2 separate regions of the Homo sapiens genome follow, and region 2 is linked to region 1. The links are contacts of gene promoters, found by promoter capture Hi-C in blood cells and fetal thymus (Javierre and others, 2016). All regions are on one chromosome and are shown on one strand. The core of a region is centred on a gene start or on the middle of the fragment in contact, and the rest is flanking DNA. Distances in the headings are between cores, read along the strand shown. Region 1 holds the start of H2AC18 (H2A clustered histone 18). Region 2 has its middle 22 kb from the start of NUDT4B.

Region 1 (6,450 bases), core at 2,214-4,713:
CAGTTACTACTGGGCCTGAGAAGCTGGGTGCAGAGATAGTGACCCACCCACCTCTGAAAGTCACTACTTTTTGAAGTCAGAATACCGCCCATACATTGTGGGCCTAAGCAGGTTACGAGGGTCTCGGCAGAGACCCAGAGGCATGCTCTAGAAATTGCTGTGACCCTGGAGCAGAAACATGTGGCAGTCCCCAGCAGAGCTCACCTACGCTGCTCTCCTCGCTTAACACGCCTCAGGAAAGGCAAAATGGCAGCTTTACAAAACGAAGTTTTATTCCATTTCCCCTTCTCCCCTCTTAATTCTCATAGATCGCTGCAGTGAATGCTTTTAACCTGTCAACTGTGATGAAACAAACAGAAAACCGAAGCCCTGGCTTCTTCTGAGGTGCAAATAAATGACCGAGAAGGTGTTATCTAAGACCTCTACAGCCATTTGTATCTGGCCGTGTGTAGAGTGGGCTCTGCAAGACCCTGCCTCACTTTCCCACTAAGAGGCCTTGGACTTCCCAGCTCCCAGAGACTGTAGAGATCACCTCTGTGGCCTCCTGTCACGATTTCCTAAGGCGAAGAGCTTCATTTGCCCAACGGAGGCCCACGTTCTTCCTGTCTGATCTACTGTCTTCCCAAGGATCTGAACTCGGGCACCAGCGTCTGCCCACATGTCCGACGAAAACAACGTAAAGGAACTACTGAGTCTGGACAGAAAATCCAGACATACCATGCAGCTTCTAAGAGGACCGAGTGCCTTCACTGGAATAGTGAATCTCCTTCTGTGGACATGGACAGGGAACGGCTCGATAAAGCCCAGATTCACAAAATTCCGCCCACACCCCGTGCCCCCGGGAATTTTGGCTTAGGGGCAGGATATGGGGGTTACCACTGTGCTAGTGGAGGTGGCGCGGGGACTGAACGGCAGCCCCAGCGCAGTTCTCCCCACGTTTGTCCGCAGAACCCCGGCGAGGCCGAGGTGGTCATTTCCCTCCCTAGCCGGATGGCCGCGCCGGGTGAGGCCGGTTTGGGCGCGAAGCACGGGCGTGTGGCGCTCCACTTCCGCAAAGGCCAGCCGCGCTCAGGACCGCGAGCCCTGAGCGTCCCCCTAGTGACCCCTGGCCTCGTGCCCGACGCCCCGTCTCTCCTGCCCCGGCCCCCCCGCCACGCAGGGCCCCGGTCACGCGCGGGGGGAGCCGGACCGCCAAAGCCCGCGAGCCGGCGCCCAGGAAAGCGTCCGCAGCCCGGCCAGTGCGGATAGGCCAATTGGCCGAAGTCGGCAAAGCTCAAGACGGCACCGCAGCAGGGGGACCCGACCCCGTTTTGTTGGGAGCCTAAGCGGAAGTGCCTTCCCCGCTCTAATGCCGGAGGAGCACGGAGGGCAAGCGGTACAGCTTCTTCCAAGTGCTGATGTGGGTGGCTCTGAAAAGAGCCTTTTGGATACGATGGAACCTCCGGCCGAACCGCCACTTCTTAAGCCCGCTCTCCACGGATGCGGCGGGCCAGCTGGATGTCCTTGGGCATAATGGTCACGCGCTTGGCGTGGATGGCGCACAGGTTCGTGTCTTCGAACAGCCCCACCAGGTAGGCCTCGCTGGCCTCCTGCAGCGCCATCACGGCCGAGCTCTGGAAGCGCAGGTCCGTCTTAAAGTCCTGCGCGATCTCGCGTACCAGCCGCTGGAAGGGCAGCTTGCGGATCAGCAGCTCCGTGGACTTCTGGTAGCGCCGGATCTCCCGCAGGGCTACGGTGCCGGGCCGGTAGCGGTGCGGCTTCTTCACCCCGCCCGTGGCCGGCGCGCTCTTGCGGGCCGCCTTGGTGGCCAGCTGCTTCCTCGGGGCCTTGCCGCCGGTCGACTTGCGAGCAGTCTGCTTAGTACGGGCCATAGCGAACCAAAACACAGGCTTACCAGCGCAGCGGCGGGGAGAAAAACGAGCTCCTAGCCCCGCCGCAGCCGTCTTTATAAGCACAGTCTTTTCCCGATTGGGCGGAACAATAATTGAAAATCCCGCGCTGGCTGTCCATTGGCTGTGACGTCACCCGTCCTAAAGTCACCGGTTGGCTTGGGCAGATTCCTCCCTAATCCCGCCCACCCCGCCTCACTTTCTACTTACCAGTTGGCGAAGTTTCGCAAGCTTGTTTTTCCCCTTTCCTTCAGGGTGAAAGTCATTTTCCATTGCAGCTTTGTCAGATTGTTCCCTTTCCGCCCTTCGCTTCCTTAGAACACACTGCCCGCAATACCCCCCCTTTCTTGCTGCGCCCTACAGCTCCCGCGTGGAACCTCATTCTTCCATTTGCCCCCCGCCCCCAGTTGCTACTTGGCGGATCGTTTTTCGCCTGTCGGGTGCCTTTTGGGTGGGAGAGGTGCCCGCCCCCAGGACGCAAGATTCCGCCTCCGAGGCCCTTACTCTCCGCCGCCAGGGCGCTTTGGAAAACAAAACAGAAACTAAGACTTAAGTCAGCTCAGTGAAGCCAAGACCCAGCTCCGCCACACTAGCGAGCACTACCCGCTCAGGGCCCTCCCCATCGGGGGTGGGGACGAGGAGCACGTCCCGCTGGTGCCAGACTAGGTCTAAGTGTCCGGCCATAGCCTGCGGAAACCACTAGGGAAGCGCGCGCTCCGCGCGCAACACTTCAGCGCGTTGGGTACTGCCCGCGGCGCTGGTGTTTGTGACTGTGTGGAGCGGACCGTGGCGGCGCCCAGGACGTTTGGTGCCTGCACCTGCCCTGGGAAGTCCTAGGACTGGGGACCCACTCATCGAAGAGCCAAGGCAGTTACGTGCTCCAGATGGAAGACGGCGCGCACACACACACACCCCGCCCCGCCCCGCCCCGTCCCGTCCCGTCCCGTCCCGTCCCGTCCCGTCAGCTCCAGGTTCGCTATTCACTACTGAGGAACGCTGGACTGAGAGTGGCCAGCATTAACAACTCTTTTATTTGAAAACGTGGGTGGCTCTGAAAAGAGCCTTTTGAGTTCACAGGTGCCCCTTCGAGACGCGGGCCGGGCTGGGCCCACTTGGGCCGGACGTCAGCCTCACTTGCCCTTTGCCTTGTGGTGACTCTCCGTCTTCTTAGGGAGCAGTACGGCCTGGATGTTAGGCAAGACGCCGCCCTGGGCGATGGTGACTTTGCCCAGCAGCTTGTTCAGTTCCTCGTCGTTGCGGATGGCCAGCTGGAGGTGACGAGGGATGATGCGCGTCTTCTTGTTGTCCCGAGCCGCGTTGCCCGCCAGCTCCAGGATCTCGGCGGTCAGATACTCGAGGACCGCAGCCATGTAGACGGGCGCGCCGGCCCCCACTCGCTCCGCGTAGTTGCCTTTGCGCAGCAAGCGATGCACTCGCCCTACCGGGAACTGAAGGCCAGCGCGGGACGAGCGCGACTTGGCCTTGGCGCGGGCCTTGCCTCCTTGCTTGCCACGACCAGACATGACAGCGATAGTAGTCACCGAGAGAAACTCCTGCCTGGCGATCGGGAAAGTCGCCGAAAACGCCGCTGCTTCACCTTTTTATAGACAGAACGGCGATTGTCCACGGAGCACTTTGATTGGCTCAAGCAAATTTTGTCCCGATAGCCAATAGGATAGCTCAGCCAGAATCCACTCATTTACATAATCTCGTCTCCCTCGCATTGCGCGCCGCGGAAAACTCGCGAACCATAACGCAGCGTCATGCGCACAGCCTCTGTAAGTACACAGTCGTTTCCGGTAGACCCCGAGCCTACCGCTCTGCTTGCGTTCTCGGGGGTCGGTGTCGGTCTTGGGTCTGGCCATGCCTGAGCCTGCAAAGTTCGCGCCGGCTCCCAAGAAGGGCTCCAAGAAAGCCGTCACCAAAGCCCAGAAGAAAGACGGCAAGAAGCGCAAGCGCAGCCGCAAGGAGAGCTACTCCATCTACGTGTACAAGGTGCTGAAGCGGGTCCACCCCGACACCGGCATCTGGTGCAAGGCCATGGGCATCATGAACTCCTTCCTCAACGACATCTTCGAGCGCATCGCGGGAGAGGCGTCCCGCCTGGCGCACTACAACAAGCGCTCCACCATCACGTCCCGGAGATCCAGACGGCCGTGCGCCTGCTGCTGCCCGGCGAGCTGGCCAAGCACGCCGTGTCCGAGGGCACCAAGGCGGTCACCAAGTACGCCAGCTCCAAGTGAGTCCCTGCCGGGACCTGGCGCTCGCTCGCTCCCTCCCTCCCTCCCTCCGCGGGTCGCCGGCTGCTTTGTCTCCAAAGGCTCTTTTCAGGGCCACTTAACCCCGTTAGTGAAATAAGCTGTTTTCCCACTGCTTACTGTGAGTTCTACTTAGGGGTTTTCCCTCAGCACCTATCCCTTTTCCTGCAGATGATGGGAGAGGAATATAAGATAAAGCTATAAGATGTAGCTTGGTCGAGAACTACCTTGTAGTGACAGGGTCATGTGCACATAATTTGCCTTTTCCAAAGTGAGACGATATGCTACGGGTGCGGTCAATGTAAATCTGCTCAGGAGAGTCAAGGGAAAAAGTGTTAACTGCATATTGAGCTCGCAAAATTGTGTAGTAACCTGAAAATATTCCTAATAGTTTTGCGACCAAGCCTCACCATATAAACTTTCCTTCCGCACCTGTAGACCTCCATTCTGTGGTTGAAGCAATTTTTGGTTTATATAGCTCTCTTGTCTCAATTTGGTATTCCTTTCAGGTACTGTGAGTCTATAGGTATTTATTTCTGGGTTTCAAGACGTTAAATGCCATCAGAATTGAGTAATGCAAAGGCTGCTGTCATGGATAGTAAAGCTTTTTAGTCAAGTGCTGATAGACAATTCCCCATTGTTATCGTTGGGTATTTTACAATTTTCTGGGCAAGAAATGTAATGAAAAATTAAGTAAGTTTTAAAGGCCTTCGTCTTTGAGACTGGATACCTAAAACAATAGTGTTTCCTAAACAGTTAAAACTTATTTAACCCTGAAGCTTTCGAGACACACAAATATATACAAATATATATTGTATATTTCTTAAACCCCACATAGTTCCACTGATCTAAATCACTGGGGGCGAGAGGCAAGGATAGACAATCTATGACACAACACCAGGTGATTCATAAGTTTGGTAACCACTGACATTTGATTATGCAGTTGCCATATTCCTTAGTAAGAACCTGGTCACAATTTTCACTCACTACCCCAGGCAATTCCCCCTCCCCACACCCCCCTTTTTTCTGAGAATTTCAGTGAGATATACAAAAGTTTCATTTAATCCTTTATTAATTCCAGACTTTATATATTTTTATTAGGATTTAAAATACATTTCAAAAAGATCAAGTGAGAACAGAAGATAAAAGTACCAAGATAAAGGCATAATACAAACTTAGAAAATACATGTTAAGCATACTGCGGCGTCCTGGTAGCCCCTTGCTTTTGTTCACTTTTTTCTCTTATGTACCTACATAAAATCCCAAATAGTATCTTCCAGGATGACACACTTGCTGTCTGCCCCACCCAATTAAAAACAGATTTTTTAGTTATTAGGTATTGTGCTGAATCTACCTTATTTTATTGCCAAAAGAAAAAAAAAAAAAAGCTTTTCAAAGCTTCATCCCCAGGAAACATTTTCCTGCTTTTACACATACCTTATATGGCTCTACTGAGAGATAAGGCCTAAGCCTGAAAAGTTAATTTAAAGCATGGAGGTAGGGGTGAGACAGAAAGACAACAGGGAAAAGTTGAGTTTATAAGGTAAGTATATATCTTCCTTTTAACAGCCACCTGCATGGCGTTCGGTAAATAACCTAATTATATGTGGGGGAAGGTAGTGGTCAACATTTGGTCCTGGGGACTGAGAATAAGAGCAGGAAAGCAATAAACAGCTAACTATGAGAGTGACTTAATGTAATTATATTACCTGTCAATCGCTACTTTTCCTTTCTTACCAAAATTCACACAGGTATGAAAGCAATATGACATTCAGGCTCCATTATGTGTATTTGTGCACATCACTTCCCACGATAAGGGAGAAGAAAAGAAACCACTGCACATTCGGATAAAACATGCTGGGAATACAGCAGTAAACAGAATAGAAAAAGTCTACATTTTAATTAGCAGATAAGTAAAAATAAGTGACTAAATGTATATTATTCAGGGGGCCATATGTGCAATTGCTGTTAAGTAAAGCAGAACATGGAGTGGAGTAGGGATGACAGGTTTCATCAGTTAATACTTGAGCAGAGAGCTGAATACAGTAAGATAGTTGTAGGATATCTTGAGGCAGAGTATTCTCAGAACAGAACATGGTAAGTACAAAGGCCCCAAGGCAGGAACAAGCTTGGTGAATGTGAGAAATATGCAAGCTGGTTAATGTGGCTGAAGCACAGTGACCAAGGGAAAGTTTTACAGAGATCACGGAGGTGCTTGAGGGCTGGATTATGTAGGCCATTAAGGAGCATCACAGGCCACTGCAGAGATTTTGTCTTTTAAATGAGATAGAGTGCTCTTGGAG
Region 2 (6,450 bases), core at 2,303-4,802, 1.1 Mb before region 1:
AAGTTTGAAGGTATATTTGGGAGTTACCAGTAATATAGGTAACTGTTGAAGCTCTAAATATAGAAGACAAACTAGAGGAGCTTGTTTCTTGAAGAATTCTTGTCACACTTGACATTTTTTACAGAGATTTCTTAAAACAGGGGCATATCTTCTTTGGCTAACATATGCAGACTAAAATGAAAGAGTATAGTATATTATAAAATCAATAAAAGGTAAGATAAATTGAGGCCTAAAAATAAAGAATAAATACACTCAGTTGATTCTGAAGCTCTAATTTACAGATGCAAAATTGTACCAGTACATTAACTCATATGTCAAAACAACATCTAGAGAAACAAAAAATGAAAGTAAAATGGAAAAAGATAAAAGAAGAGAGGCAAGGAGAAGAGAATGGGCAAAAGGAGATAGGAAAAACAGGAATTTTTTTTTAAAGGGCTAAAATTTTAGTGAATCAGATGTGGAAAACAGTTGGATTAACATTGAGATCAAATGAGAAAGGAGCAAATAAGGAAAGATGTATTACAAACCAAGAGTAAAAAAGGGAAAACAAAATAACAAAAGCAAAAACTATTTAAAAAGAATAAAGGAAGACGTGATAATGAAGTAAATTTAAAAAGTACGGAATAATAAAAAGAAATTGCAAAAAATACCTTTTGAAAATAAACATACTAATAACTTGACAATAAAGTGAAATGTGTAAGACAAACATATCTGTGTCATTATTTAGGAGTAGTGAAAAGTACTCTTAAATAATAATTTGGTATCTAGCAGGCCTGGATTTGAATCTACTTTAACTTGCTAGCTATGTGACCTTGGGCAAGCAAAGAAACTCCTCATAACCATTGTAATAATACCACCAAAATGCCTTACACTTACGGCTCAAAAAATGAAGGAAATGAGAGAAAAAAGTATAGATTACTATATGGAAGTCAAATTTCTAGTGACTTTTCTAATCCAAACATGAATTGTTACAGTACTTGAAATAAACTTTATGAGAACTGAGTGACTACATTGCTTCAGATAGTTTTATACTGCTAGGTCAACGCTGCCTGACAGTAATAAGAACAGGATGTGGGATTCAATATGCTCATTCTATCTCAAACTCTGTCACACATACAATGACTGCTATTTACCTTCCTCCTGAGCCATCTGGGAAAAAACCAACCAACCAAACAAACAAACAAAAGAAAAACCCACCAGGTAGGAGTCAGTTAGTTCTGCTAACTAACTAACCAAAAACCTTAATTGTATGGCCACCAGCACCCTAGCCCTTTGTCATGAAAGCTACCAATAAGGTGGAAATTTAAAATATGAAATATTTCATTATACATGTTTTATTAAACCCTACATGTGCAGAAATGATTGTCCATTTTCCTTCTTAACTTGCTTTTGTAAGACTTATTAAGTAGAAAATATAAATCTCAAGCTCCTTAAATGTGATTTTGAGGAACTGAGACCAAAACAATTTTTTGCTGTGGAACCAGATCCTTGAATGCACTACAGGAAAATATTATTTGATATGAAATTTTTTTGGTACACACAATTTTTCAAAAATATATCTCTCTCCACAAAGTTAATTCAAATTGTAGAATTCTTCCAAGTCACAAATGGAGTTTTCAAGGCTCTGGGTACTTACCTTTGAGTTCCACATCCTTTATCTCTGGAGCTCTTAACTGAGGGAACATGGACCATTAGGTCATGAACAGACTTTGTAGTCTTTGAACAGCCTGAAACAGTATGTGATACTTGATGTGCATGTACACAGGAACATTTTTCTAGAGTAATGGCACATACCTTTCATCAGATTTTCAAAGGTTTCTCAAAATGCTCAAGAACCACTGTTAGATATTTAAATAACCAGAGTGTACAGTGTCCAAATATTTCCAAATTTTGACACTTGTAAGATGTCTTAATTAAAACAAGCCATGAAGTTCAGCGTCACAATAACCAGAAAAGCACTTGTGAGAGTAGTTCTATGTCTTTACTTCCTAGTGGTTTACACACTCTTTAACCCATATGGCAATCTGGCTTCTGTCTCCGGTGCTCTGGAATTACTTCTGCCTGTATGATTAAGTTCCTCATTGTTAAATTCGAAAATACATTCTTTGGTATTTATTTGACCTCTTGGTGGTAATATAGTGTAAGAGCACAGACTCTGGAGCCAAACTGCCTAGGTTCAAATCTTAGCTCTATTACTTTCTAACTCTGTGACTTTGGGCAAATGACTTAACTCTCTCATGCCTCAAAGCAGAATCCTTTGTAAGGTTTATTTATATAGTGGTGTAAAGAGTACTTACTTCAAAAGCTTTGGTCAGTGTGAGAAATAAGCTCCTAACAAAGAAAGTGTTATGTAATAGTTATTATCTGGTACCTCTGATCACATCATTTTTGAAAATCACTTGAAATCTGCCTAAGTTTCATTCTGCCTTTGATGGCTCCTTATTTTCATCTCCCTACTTCAGGCTTCCTCCCTAATATATCTTTTATGCCAATATTATGATCACTTGAAACTATAAATCTGATGCCATCCTTGGCCACTACCATTAAGATGGTCTAAACTCCTCAGCATGATAGACAAGTCCCTTTATGATAGTGTACCCATCTAGTTCTCATTCCTCAAGTCTCCTCTGTTGTCTATGCTTACCCTATGGGCTAAGCTGAATCAAGCTGTTACATTTCCAAAACATGCCTCACTGTCTTTATTCATGCCTTTGCACATGCCATTGACTCTTCCTAGAATGCCCCATTCTCCTTCTCTAGAAAGTCTTCTCTTAACATACTTCTTCCCAAAATAAATTAGGTGTCCTTTCTTAATATGCCTCCAATAACCCCATACAGTATTTATCCCATTCTATTTTAGATGCCAGTTTGGTTGATGATACATTTCATCTAGTCAGATCTTCCCACTGCCTCTTATAAAGAAAACCAGGAGCCATATTATGATATTCTTGTTCTCTAATTTTTCTGCTGCCCTGATCTTAAACCACTTTCTTCTCCCTTTGTTGACAATTACCCCACCCCTTATTTCTTAATTAGCTCAACAAGATTAGATAGAAATGTATCTACAAAGGATATATGTATATAAATTAACTAGATAACAAAACTTCACACTGAAGTGAACATTCTACAAGTATTTCTTTCATTGCTGACCATTAGGTTGCAGCATGCAACTCTCAACAATGAGCTGCCCCTCTCCACTCCTATAGAAGCTCCAAATACTATGGTACCACTATGTAGGTTTTCAGCCTTTCAAAGGCTTTTATTATGAACTTCATCATTACTTCAGCAGGAGCCTTTTAGGGACTTAAAAGCACTGATTATCTATAAAAAGTAACTTCATATTTCATGCACAAAATTCCCAATTGGCAGATTTAGGTCCATAAAAGAAAGGAAAAAAATTATTCTAGCTATATAAATTATCAGGAATAAAATAGCATTTCTCCTTGCCTTGTTATAAGGAAATAATATATTTTTCCTTACCAGGAATCAGGATAGTATCTTTGATGATCCCTCAGGGTTATAAAATTGCTTACTGGTTAAAGTTTTTTGCCAAAGATATTAAGAAATAAAAAGTTCGCTCATTTTCCTGTGCAATTTAAAGAAATATTTGCAGTATGTACAGGAATTTTAAGTTATATTGCAGACCCTGGCAATAATATTTAAAAGGCCTATTTTCCCCATTAAAAAATTTACCCCATTAAAAAAGGTAAAAGGAAATCTCCATCATCCCTGAGCAGAAAAGGAAAAAATCATGGGTACTTTAATTAGTTAATAGAAACCACTGTAAATGAGTTATCTATCTCCAGAACATTCTCAGAGAATTTACACGAACTAAAACAGGAATGAAGTGCTCTCAGAGACTTTTTCTCAGGTAAATGTATTTAGTAGTTTGAGTAGTTGATCTGCAGAAACTTTAACTTTAATTAACTACATAGATGAATATTTTTTATTTTGAAATTTGAGAATGTCCTAAGAGGATGTCTACAGGATATGAAACTACTGGGTGCAGGAAAATTTTTTAAGTGTTAGCAAATTGTGGCAAGAGGAAAACAAACAGCGGAGAAAACTGTGGTAGAGAAAGTAAAGAAGGGGCAGGAGAAAGCTGTAATTATAACCTGGGCCTGCCTTTGTTCTCATGAAGCCAGGGGCCTCTCCATATCCTATACTTGCTCTTACACTAATAACAAACCAAATGCTGCAAAATAAAAGTAATAATGACCCAAACTAATTTAAGTCTTTTGTTTAAGGAGTAAATGAGAGAAACATTTTAGCTTCTTAATCAAGGAGTGCTATAATTTCAAGGCATCTTAATATAATTCACTTACCCTAAAGCAATTGTGCAATAAGCAAATTATAAAAGGAAAACAACAAAGGTTAACTTTCTACAGGGGCCAATAGACAAGATCTGTGGAGCACAGCAATTAACCTTCACATACTGGAGTCTTGTTTAAAAGGCCATCAAAAACTCAGATTACTGAAAATCACAAATGTCACCAACAAAAGGAATGTTGATTAGAGTCAAAAAAAAACAAAAAAACAAAAAAACAAAAAAAAAAAAACACCTTCCCAAAGGACTGCCTTCTTTGAAGGAATTTCAGAATGTTGCTAGCACAGGTTGACTAAGTTAAATCTCATTGATGGCTCCATCAGAGAATGAGAATGCCCAGCCAGTGCTGTTTTTAAAATGCACTGGGAGGGAAAAAACGAAATAACAATCTACTATTCCCTAATATATATGGCTTGGCACCCAGAGAAAGCCTCTGCCCCCGAAAGAGACTTTCTACATAGGGTTAAGCTTCATTAAATGAGGTGCAACCTTTCATTTTCAGGACATCTCTTTTCTTGCAAGGTCTTTAGAGGCAGAAGTTCCACTTGGATTCTAATACACATCTCTGTGAGCTCAGTTTCCTGAAAATATACACCTACTGGGTTCTAGGTTCTCCCTTACCAGTGACTGTATTCATTATTTCACAGCCACCAGAATCGGACATACACTATTAACATGATGAAAAATACAGCTACTGCTGCAAGTTTGGCATAAGTGGAATGCATGTTCAAGTACTTCGCATCCTGGCGGTATTTCTTGGACAGACTGGACAAATTGTTAGCCTTTGAATCCAATGCTGTCAAAGAGGAAAAAAGGAAAACATTAATTAGTCCCTGGAAGTATTTTACCGAAAGTATTAAGGCATTAAAAATAACCAAAATGAGCAGCACTGCAACAACCATGAATCTTAAATCATCATTTTTATTTTGAGGCTAACATTGCATATACTAATTAACTGATGATGCTGATCAGATTATGTCTGAATTTTTGAGGCTATATAGTAAGGTGGTTAGAAGTGCAGGTTCTGGCCTCAGACTCTTTGGTTCAGATATCACCTGTACAAGTTATGTGACATTGGTCAAGTCATGTAACCTATTTAAAACCTAGTTTCTTCATCTATAATTGGGGATAATAACAGTAACTATGTCATAAAGTTGTATGTACATGAGATTGCCTGTAAAGTGAGCAACAATGCCTGCACATGATAAATTATAATAATTATTACATGTTAATAATTATTATCTTCATAATCTTCTAATGGTCTGAATCATATTCTCTTATATTTTGAAAAACGATAATGATAATCCATGTAAAACAAACTCAGATAACCAGAAAATTCAATTAACCAAACACAGTCTTAAGCTATACTTCAATGATGACTGCTAACATTTCTAAGATTCTCCACATAGTAGAGACTACTACGAAGTTAAAGCTATCAGGATTTATATTTCAATAGACATAGGAAAGTTGTAACTAAAATACAATAAGTACTACAAAAAAAAACGCAAGTAAATTAAGCTTTTTAGTATTTTCTGGCAAGTTTTTTCACCCCCAAGGACATTTGTAATGTTGTTATCTTCTTATAACAGTTAACTAAACACTTAGAGAAATAGCCAGATAGACACAAGCTAGACCATATTAAAATATAGGGCATATTTTAATAATAAACACAAACTCTCCATTTGACATAATAAATTCTGATCAAACTTTTCACTTCTTGAAATTTCAGAAAAAACTATTTTGCAATCCGGCTGTTTCTTCCTTAAAGAATGCTTTTGGAATATTTGGAGTTGCTTAATAGAGACTGGTTTTGATTGGGAAACATGGCGTTACTTAATAACACAGGCATGACAGCCACGTCTGAATTAGCAACTGATCACATGAGTAAGAAAAACATCTAGTGACGGAAGAAGAGTCAGGGACTGAGAAATAACCATGACAATGCACAGGGCATCTTTTTACAGAGCCTACAAGAATATACACTTCACTGGACAGGGATTTTAAATTATTGTGTTTGCTGCTATATCCTGAATGCCCAGAACAGGGCCTGGTATATAGTTAGTGCTCAATAAACATTTGCTAAATGAATCTAAATCTGCTGAGAATAACTCAGCAGAGGAACA

What was found. Contacts are between HindIII fragments. The CHiCAGO score rates a contact against its expected background, and 5 or more counts as called.
Region 2: a contact is called between a fragment that was not itself captured here and the fragment with the promoter of H2AC18 in region 1, in 4 of 17 cell types (M1 macrophages, M0 macrophages, M2 macrophages and 1 more). The highest score is 12.3, in M1 macrophages.

What each region holds. Positions count from the first base shown.
Region 1 is chr1:149,839,287-149,845,736 of GRCh38, forward strand. It overlaps H2AC18 (H2A clustered histone 18), which reads right to left and starts at 3,464. Exons shown (of 1, transcript NM_003516.3): 1 at 2,932-3,464. The coding sequence starts at 3,412. The coding sequence ends at 3,020. H3C14 (H3 clustered histone 14) reads right to left here and starts at 1,922. Exons shown (of 1, transcript NM_021059.3): 1 at 1,401-1,922. The coding sequence starts at 1,871. The coding sequence ends at 1,461. It also overlaps the pseudogene H2BC19P and a transcript of H4C15 not described here. RefSeq lists enhancers at 1,190-1,763, 6,039-6,450. The HindIII fragment of the contact is 2,631 bases long and covers 2,119-4,749 here.
Region 2 is chr1:148,767,672-148,774,121 of GRCh38, forward strand. It overlaps the pseudogene SEC22B3P. Among named protein-coding and RNA genes, the nearest start is that of NUDT4B, 22 kb to the left of the region's middle. RefSeq lists enhancers at 4,128-4,687, 4,688-5,246. The HindIII fragment of the contact is 2,490 bases long and covers 2,308-4,797 here.